2 separate regions of the Homo sapiens genome follow, and region 1 is linked to region 2. Evidence: promoter capture Hi-C in 16 types of primary human blood cells and fetal thymus (Javierre and others, 2016). All regions are on one chromosome and are shown on one strand. Each heading gives the region's core, a stretch centred on a gene start or on the middle of the fragment in contact. The rest is flanking DNA. Distances are from core to core; before and after follow the strand shown.

Region 1 (5,246 bases), core at 1,010-3,509, 4.3 Mb before region 2:
GATCACAGGTGTGAGCCACCGCATCCGGCCTCTTTTTTTAAATTTTAAAAACATATATATATGTTTATTGTAAAAATAGAGATGGGGGGTCTCACTGTGTTGCACAGGCTGGTCTTGAACTCCTGGGCTCAAGTGATCTGCCCACCTTGGTCTCCCAAAGTGCTGGGATTACAGGCGTGAGACACTGCACCTGGTCCCTCAATTTCTTTTTCTACCTCACTGGGTTGTTATGAGGAATAAAAGAGTATATGTAAAGCACTTACAATGGTGCTTGGCACATAACAGCTCAATAAATATAATTCTATGATTATTACCATTATCAAATAACAACCCAGTGAAGAAAATGAGGGCCTAAAAGGTAGTTTTTTGGTCCACGTTCACACTACTAACAAATGAAAGAGCAAGGGATTGAGACCAGGTATGTCCAACACTGAAATCCCATTTTACTGCCTATTCACTTCTTGTTTAGTGTAGTTGAGCTTCAAAATTGTACACCACCCACCTTGCCGGGTTGTTGTGAAAATTAAAGATAATGTATTTAGAGCCTAGCAGTCTCAGCATATGGCATACATTCAATAAATGGTTAACAGCTGTTATTATCTGAAGTCCTTTCTAGACTCAATTTAAAATGATTCAAATATTATTTTTAGTAGAGACAACTATTTATTGTTATAGGACTGCAAGGAACATCTTCCTTCATAAATACCAACTGAAAAGTTTCAATTTTCTGATACTGTTATTTGGAGATAATCTCTACTCTCAAACTCAGAAAGACCTGGCAAGGTAACAGGAAATAAAAGCTAGAAAATAATAGCACGCTAGGCTCCAAGTCAACATCAGATGCTATGCAATTCATCAAATAGTTGGTATGAGAGATACTTACAACCCAGATTAAGTCCTTGTGAATCTGTGCACAGGACTCCAACAATGGAGGGATTCTTCATTCTAATTCCAGGAACACAAGAGAGTTGAAGTACATAATGGGAGAAAAAGGATTTAAATAAGTACAAACATACAGGTGTTCTATGTACCAGGCATTAAGTGCTTTAAATCAATATTTCTCAATCTTTTTTCATTGTCACACCCTAAGAAAAAAATTAAGTTCTAGGGCCGGGCGCGGTTGCTCACGCCTGTAATCCCAGCACTTTGGGAGGCCCAGGTGGGCGGATCACCTGAGGTCGGGAGTTCAAGACCAGCCTGACCAACATGGAGAAACCCCGTCTCTACTAAAAATACAAAATTAGCCAGGCGTGGTGGCGCATGACTGTAATCCCAGCTACTCGGGAGGCTGAGGCAAGAGAATCGCTTGAACCTGGGAGGCGGAGGTTGCAGTGAGCCGAGATCACGCCATTGCACTCCAGCCTGGAAGACGAGCGAAATTCCGTCTCAAAAAAAGAACACAAAAAATTTAAGTTCTAGTTAATTAATTGAAATAAACCAGTTTCTCTCTGATGAGAGAAAAAAATGTGCTAAGTACTGCTGAGTTCTGGAGGGCCACAAACACTGCGTGAAAAACATCTAGGATGTTTTCACTCTTGTTAAAAACGCATGTTTTAGTACTAACTCATTTAAAACAACTGTTGAAAAACTCAAGTTACCTCCTGGAGGGTAAGTGGAAGCTGAGGGACATCGGTGGGAGGCAGGTGTCTCTCTGTACCCTTTACACTTTTCCAGTTTTGAATTTTACATAGATACTGCTTGTTCGAAAAATTTAAAGAATGATTTTTATCTACTTAAGCACCAAGTAACTGATAGGTTACACACAGGAGATACGTGTTTGTTTACACTGCAGGGCTCGACACTGCACAACTGGCACAATCTTCCCAAAAGTCAACCCGTTTTCTAAAACTTCCGCAGAACCACCCTGACCGTAAAGACGATTTCAACAACGAGATAGGCAGTTTTGGCCCGTGGCCTGGGCCCGGGAGACTCGCTCAAGAGGGAATGTGCGGTGCCCGGCAGGATTTTAATTCCGGGTCACCCGCCCCGCCCTGCGGCCTTGGGTAGAGTTTAGCCCCCTCATCCCGTGTCCCGGGGGTCGCGCGACGTCCCCGAGACGCCCTGGCCGGTACTCGCAGCTCGCGCCTTTCGTTCCGCTCAAGTTCCTCCGCCGCGACCTCAGGACAGGCCGAAGAGGCGCGCACTACTCACGTGTCTTCCAAGTGCTGCTCCAAGGTCGCCTCCATCCCACCCACCGACCACTCCGGCTCAGAACCCAGCGGCACGGCACGTCCTTCTCCACCACAGGCCTCAGTCACTTGACGCGAGCGGGGCGTGGACCGTAACGGCGCCTCCAAAGGGACAAAATTGATCACGGTGCAACGTCCGCGTTCTTTACTGGAAAACATCACTGCGCTTCCGTCGCACAGAGCCTGACGAAGGCTTGGGCTCCCCGCGCGGTGACCGTCGAGGTGACCTGCACCTGGCTCCATGGCGGAACCGGCCGGCACGGATTATTCCCCTCTCGGGAGAGGTCTGCAGCCGGGCCTCAGTGCTTCAGTTCGTGGCCTGGCATTTTGTGTCAGTGTTTTTTAACCTTTGGACCCTAGTTCAACCGACTCCGAGACCTAGGGGACAGATCTTAAGTTTTACAATAACCCAGGGGTCAGACAGGGTCTGATCTAGCCTGTGGGGCAAGTACGGGGAAGACACGGGACCTCTTGGAGGGGGTCAGTAGGCTTGTAGGGGGAAAGACGCACACAGAGACTAAAGGACGAGATGGAGCAAGGTTCAACCCCCTAGCTGAGTGTTGGCAGTGTCGGGATTTTAACGAAGACATTGGTGCTTATTATGGTGAGGGGACTCAGGACAGTTTAGGGGAAGAGAGTGGCATTTGAGTCCTAACTCGTAAGGAAGACTGGGTAGGACTACTTGAAAATAACTTTTAAAAATTAATTATAAAGCTGGTAAAAATAGGAAAACATCTATGGCCCCACTGTCCAAAGACGACTTTTAACTTCTTGGAGAATATCCTTTCAGATAGTTGTCTTTGTAAATGTATACTTTTAATGTTTTTTCGTTTGCCTTTTTAAAATAAATTTTTTGGGGGACAGGGTCTTGCTCTGTTACCCAGGCTGTAGTGCAGTAGAACGATTATAGCTCATTGCAACCCGGACGTCCTGGGTTCAAGCTATCCTCACCTCTCAGCCTCTCGACTGGCTAGGACCACAGCCTCGAGCCATCATGTCTGGCTAATTTTTACGTTTTTTTGTAGAGATGGGGGTCTCGCTGTGTTGTCCAGGCTGGTCTTAAACTCCTTGCTTCAACAGATCCTCCCACTCCAGCCTCCCAAAATGTGATTACAGGCTGAGTCACCACGCCTAGCATGGTTTTTTTTGTTTTGTTTGTTTTGTAAGCAAAATTGACATACATACTGGAGGTACAATTCTGTAGCTGGCCTTCTTTACAGAGTTTAGAATAAATGTCTTTCCATGTCAAGTTTTCACTTACATCCTTTGTAGTAGTTGCAAAATATTCCATTTTATAGCTGTATCTTAATTGTGGATTAAGGTTGGAGTGCAGTGGCACTATCATGGCTTAGTCCAGCCTCAGCCTTCTAGGTTCAAGCGATCTTCCCACCTCAGCCTCCCAAGAAGCTGGGACTACAGGGACCCGCCACCCCACCTAGCTAATTAAAAAAAAAATTGTAGAGATGGAGTCTCAGTGTGTAGCCCAGTCTCAAGTGACCCTCCCTCGTTGGCTTCCCAAAGCGCTGAGATTGCAGGTGAGCCACTGTACTTGGACTTTTTTTTTTTTTTTTGCTTTTGTTTGTTTTTTGTTTTAGCTATTACAATGCTGGTTGAATATCCTCATAGCTAAATATCTGTGCAGTTTTAAAATTTCCTTATAAGTTACTAGAAATGGAATGACTGGGTTAAAGGACATGATCATTTTTTAAGACTCTTGATACATACTTACAAATTGCCTCCCGAAAAAGTGGTGCTAATTTACTCAAATTGGTAAGCCTCACCCCCTCTGTGGATCATTCCTTGCACTAAGTTTCTTCCAACTCTGTCACCTCCAGCTTTTTACTCACAGCCTACCTTCCAATCTGGGGCCCAGCTCCCAGATCGGAAGATACCAGACTTTGGTATTGAACCAAAGTCCAATACACTGCACTGGCATTCAGAGTCCCTTTTTATTCCGCAGCTGTCATAGTGAAGCTTGCAGCTTCCTTGAAATTCCAGTTTGTTTATTTCTTTATTTTTTTGAGACAGAGTCTTGCTCTATCGCCCAGGCTGGAGTGCAGTGGCGCCGTCTCAGCTCACTGCAACCTCTGCCTCCTGGTTCAAGCGATTCTTCTGCCTCAGCCTCCCGAGTAGCTGGGATTACAGGCATGCACCACCACACGTGGCTAATTTTTGTGCTTTTAGTAGAGATGGGGTTTCACCATGTTGGCCAGGCTGGTCTCAAACTCCTGACCTCAAGCGATCCGCCCACCTCAGCCTCCCAAAGTGCTGGGATTATAGGCATGAGCCATTGCACCCAGCCAAAATTCCAGTTTGAATGTTATAATTCAGGGGTCTTGGACTCCTGCTCTAGAGAAATTATTCATGTTAAGTTAGGGGTAACACAGTACAGGCCATATAAGTTTTAGAAAAAGCAGTTTAAAACTTAGCATTAGAAAACATAAGTACTGCCTGGTGAAATGGCACGTGCCTATAATCCCAGCTACTCAGGAGGCTGAGGCAGGAGGATCCCTTGAGCCCAGGAGTTCAAGTCCAGCCTGGGCAATATAGTCTAGTGGCCACATTAAAAAAAGTAAAACAGCCGGGCGCGGTGGCTCACGCCTGTAATCCCAGCACTTTGGGAGGCCGAGGCGGGTGGATCACGAGGTCAGGAGATTGAGACCATCCTGGCTAACACGGTGAAACCCTGTCTCCACTAAAAATACAAAAAATTCTCCGGGTGTGGTGGTGGGCGCCTGTGGTCCCAGCTACTCAGGAGGCTGAGGCAGGAGAATGGTGTGAGCCTGGGAGGCGGAGCTTGCAGTGAGCCGAGATCGCGCCACTGCACTCCAGCCTGGGCGACAGAGCGAGACTCTGTCTCAAAAAAAAAAAAAAAAAAAAAAAAAAAGTAAAACAGGGCAGGGTGCAGTGGCTCACGCCTGTAATCCTAGCACTTTGGGAGGCCGAGATGGGTGGATCAGTTGAGGTCAGGAGTTTGAGACCAGCCTGGCCAACATGGCGAAACCCCATCTCTACTAAAAATACAAAAATTAGCTGGGTGTGATGGTGCGTGCCTGT
Region 2 (3,790 bases), core at 1,291-3,790:
GGAAAAGATTAAGAAAACACAGTAACTCAAATGACAACTCTACTGCAGCCAGGAGGCTACAGATTAAGTACCCAGTGTATTTCACTAAGCTATGAACTGGACTGTTTTATTTGTGCTGTTTATTTTACTTAAAGAAATCTAAACATACCTCCACCAATTATAACCTGGCCCTATATACATCATTTGTGTTTATGACTAAATATACAAATACCTTTGTTTCAGAGAAGGTTTTTTTTTTATCATGACAGATGTACCTTTGGGAAATATTCCTGAATCAAATTCTTAAAGGTTCCAAACAAGGTATAGTTATGTTTAATTTCTCAGGAAGACAAACATGCATAGATCATATAAAAAATACTTTCATTTTGGTTTTATGGCAACAGGACTTTTACTTGTATTTTAATGTCATCACACTTGGAGAACTCTCTGGAGTACTGGAAGTGCTCTATACTGTTATCTGGGTGGTAGCTACATGACTATATAGAAACGCAAAAAGCACTGGGCTGTAGACATAAAATTTATGTATTTTACTTATGTAAATTGCTCAATAAATCAAACATTTAAAAATATTTAATTAAAATATTAAACATTTCATGTAAAATATTAAAGCTGTTAAGCTCAAAATAAAGATTTTGCCAAGGGTTAGCAACCAATTTTTTATAGTGGCTACATTAGAGTTAGTTTTCATCAATTAAACACGAGTAGCCAGATGGTAGGGAGGCCAGGTGTTGATTAAAATAATCTCTAAAGTTAGGCATTTCTAAACTGAACAAAATTACAAAACCCTTTATTTATTTATCTATTTATTTATTTTTTGAGACGAAGTCTCGCTCTGTTGCCCAGGCTGGAGGTCTGTGGTGTGATCTCGGCTCACTGCACCCTCTGCCTCTGGTTCAAGCGATTCTCCTGCCTCAGCCTCCTGAGTAGCTGGGATTACAGGTGCCTGCCACCACACCCAGCTAATTTTTGTATTTTTAGTAGAGACGGGGTTTCACCATGTTGATCAGGCTGGTCTTGAACTCCTGACCTTGTGATCCGCCTGCCTCAGCCTCCCAAAGTGCTGGGATTACAGGCGTGAGCCACCGTGTCCGGCAAAACCCTTTATTTAAAGAGCCTTAGGTGCCACTTACTGAAGACAATCTGTACCATGAACTCTCATAATAACAATAGAATCCCTAAGTACTATTACATAGTGCTTTACCATTCATAAATAACTTAAATATATTATTTAACTTTCCATAACATCCCTGTGTGGTAGGCAGGACAAGTTTATGGTAATTTAAAACATGAGGAAAATGAGGTTGGGAGAGATTCAGTTGCTCAATATCACACAACTAAATAAACTGCAAACAGGGACCAAAATCCTAGGCATAAAGACTAAAAATCTCAAGTTCTTGCTACTCCAATCATCTGGTCTCAGCTGCTTCAACTAGCTAATAAATAAATATTGAAGAACACTCATCTCTGAATCCTTTATCTCCATCCTATTATCTCCCATACAATCAGACAGTCTCGCTACTATGGCCTGTGTTTCTCATGTAATAGAGCTGTTATATATGAAGAAACTCATGAATGAACTCAACACTGAGTTTGCAATAGTTTACAGAACTGTTAAAAACTGGACAGGTTTTAGAAACTTCAGCAGCTAATAAAAATGAACTGTTCTCTATAAACACGTTAAGCTTATTGCATAACTGAATGTATACCCAAAATAACTTTTTACTTTCTCTCCTCTTATTCCTTTAATACAGAATATGGGTAAAGATGATCCGACAAGTGAGAGACAGGATCAGGTCAGCGGGCTACCACTGGGCCTCACCTCTATGGTGGGATCATATTCATCTACAAAGTGGTTCTGGATTAGCTGGATTGTCAGTGCGCTTTTCCCAACACCACCTGCTCCAACCACCACCAGTTTGTACTCAGTCATTTCACACCAGCAAGAACCTGTTGGAAACCAGTAATCAGGGTTAATTGGCGAGCCACATCTACAGTACTTTAAAGCTTTCTATAATCAATGGAAATGAAAACCCTAGTGTGACCTTCCATTTGGTTCTTAAAGTGACTAGAGAACGCAAAAACACCGGATTAATATCGGCCTCACACTTCTGGAGTAGTTTTCTAGCAACCCCCATCCTTAGCTATTTTTCAACAGTCCTTGGGCCCCGCCCTCAGCCTAAGCAATGGAAATCCCCCTTCCTATTACTCCCCGAAGGCTTCTCAGCTCTAGCAGGAAGCCTCCAGGCCGCAACTCCTTCCCATTCTCCCTTCTGTCTCCAAAGATCTCCCCACGTAGGCACCAAATGGAAGGACCCCCGCCCAAGGCCTTTGTCTCCAGCTGATAGATTCTGCTCCATTTCTGGCATCAGTGAAACGCCTGAACATTCCACAGCCCAAAGCCGAACACTATGCATGAGATAAACTTACCTCAAGCTCCACTGCCTCTGCTTTGGACAGATTTAGGACCACAGCCGGGAAAAATGTTGGAGACCCCGGAACCGCCATGAACAGCCCCCACCAAGGAGCGGCACTTCCGGCCCCGCCCGCTACGTAATCAGTCGGCGCCCCAGGCGCCTGAGTCCCCGCCCCGGCCACGTGGGCCTCCGAACCACGAGTCATGCGGCAGGCCGCACCCAGACCCGCCCCTCCCACACGGGACGTTTCAATAATGAAAGCGCTAGGTGCTAGTGTCTCAAAAATCAGTAAAACTTTATTCGCTTCCATTCTTTCGCCATTAACAGAAAACTGGAGAAAGCAAAAATGTTTCGTGTTTACAAAGATAAACGGCCTCTTTACCCAGAGATCAAAACCTCAAACGACAAGGGGGAAGATAAAACCGCCCTCCCCCACATCCCCTGAGCTGACCCTTGTCATCTTAGACAAAGCCTTCAGTCCACTGGCCAGGGACCCTGTATATGGCCAATTCAAGAAGAGGGCCAAGAAATCAGACCCATCCATTCCCGTGATATAAAGTTGAACAGAAGCTACACCAAGGGTCAAGTGTCTGTATTTTACAGGACACAGTAACCAGGCGGCTACTTATAAAAAAAAACAAGATTCATTTCAGGCACAACTTTTTTATTTTTTTTTGTTTTGTTTTTAAATCAGTAAAAGAAACCGGGTCCTAGAAGCTGCAGTGATCTAAGCAGCAGCAAGTTTGTGCATTCATTTTTTTTGTTTTTGTTTAAATATGTTTAAATTATCACACTGCTGGCACTCCTCATTTGCATGAAATTCTGCACCATACTTACTAATTGTAGTAAAGTTACCCCCCAACCCACGAAAAAAAACCTACTCTGGAAGAAAATTTTCACTGAAATATAACCAAACTTCTTTAAGTGGATTGTGACAAGATTATAAATGATATGAAAAATAACATTTTAAAATTTGGCCATCAACTTTAAGAAATGGTTTGCCTATACAAATTTTTGTAATTTTTAAAAGATAATATATTCTACCCTCATATGGTCCTCAGAATTAAAGCATAATGAACAGGAAGAAAAAGGAAAAGAATGCAACTGAGTGCTAAGGCAGAACATCTTGCCAGAAGTAATTAATGAAGGTAGAGTATATAATGAAAAGTGCAGAATTTCATAGGGCCAACAAGATAACAGTCTATATTTTTCACTTACACAGGCAAAGTGGATTCTGCAATTACCAGTTGCGTTAAATGCACCAAATAAAGCTCCTAAAATTGATACTATAAGGCGCCACCTTAAGTTTTTCCAGGCTGCAACTGTGCATTATTTAAAATGGTTTTCTTAAATTTATTTATTTTTTTAAACATAAC

What was found. The method cuts DNA at HindIII sites, captures the fragments that hold promoters and counts their contacts. A CHiCAGO score of 5 or more calls a contact.
Region 1: the fragment with the promoter of LAMTOR5 here is called in contact with the fragment with the promoter of NRAS in region 2 in 1 of 17 cell types (non-activated CD4 T cells); the score reaches 6.6 in non-activated CD4 T cells.

Annotation. Positions count from the first base shown.
Region 1 is chr1:110,405,435-110,410,680 of GRCh38, forward strand. It overlaps LAMTOR5 (late endosomal/lysosomal adaptor, MAPK and MTOR activator 5), which reads right to left and starts at 2,260. Exons shown (of 4, transcript NM_001382293.1): 1 at 2,152-2,260; 2 at 884-945. The coding sequence starts at 2,186. LAMTOR5-AS1 (LAMTOR5 and SLC16A4 antisense RNA 1) reads left to right here and starts at 2,375. Exons shown (of 3, transcript NR_102697.1): 1 at 2,375-2,520. RefSeq lists an enhancer at 2,202-2,431. The HindIII fragment of the contact is 8,453 bases long and covers 1-4,161 here.
Region 2 is chr1:114,714,231-114,718,020 of GRCh38, forward strand. NRAS (NRAS proto-oncogene, GTPase) reads right to left here and starts at 2,541. Exons shown (of 7, transcript NM_002524.5): 1 at 2,428-2,541; 2 at 1,820-1,947. The coding sequence starts at 1,930. CSDE1 (cold shock domain containing E1) reads right to left here. Exons shown (of 20, transcript NM_001007553.3): 20 at 2,686-3,790. RefSeq lists enhancers at 2,237-2,336, 2,347-2,546. The HindIII fragment of the contact is 3,751 bases long and covers 2,003-3,790 here.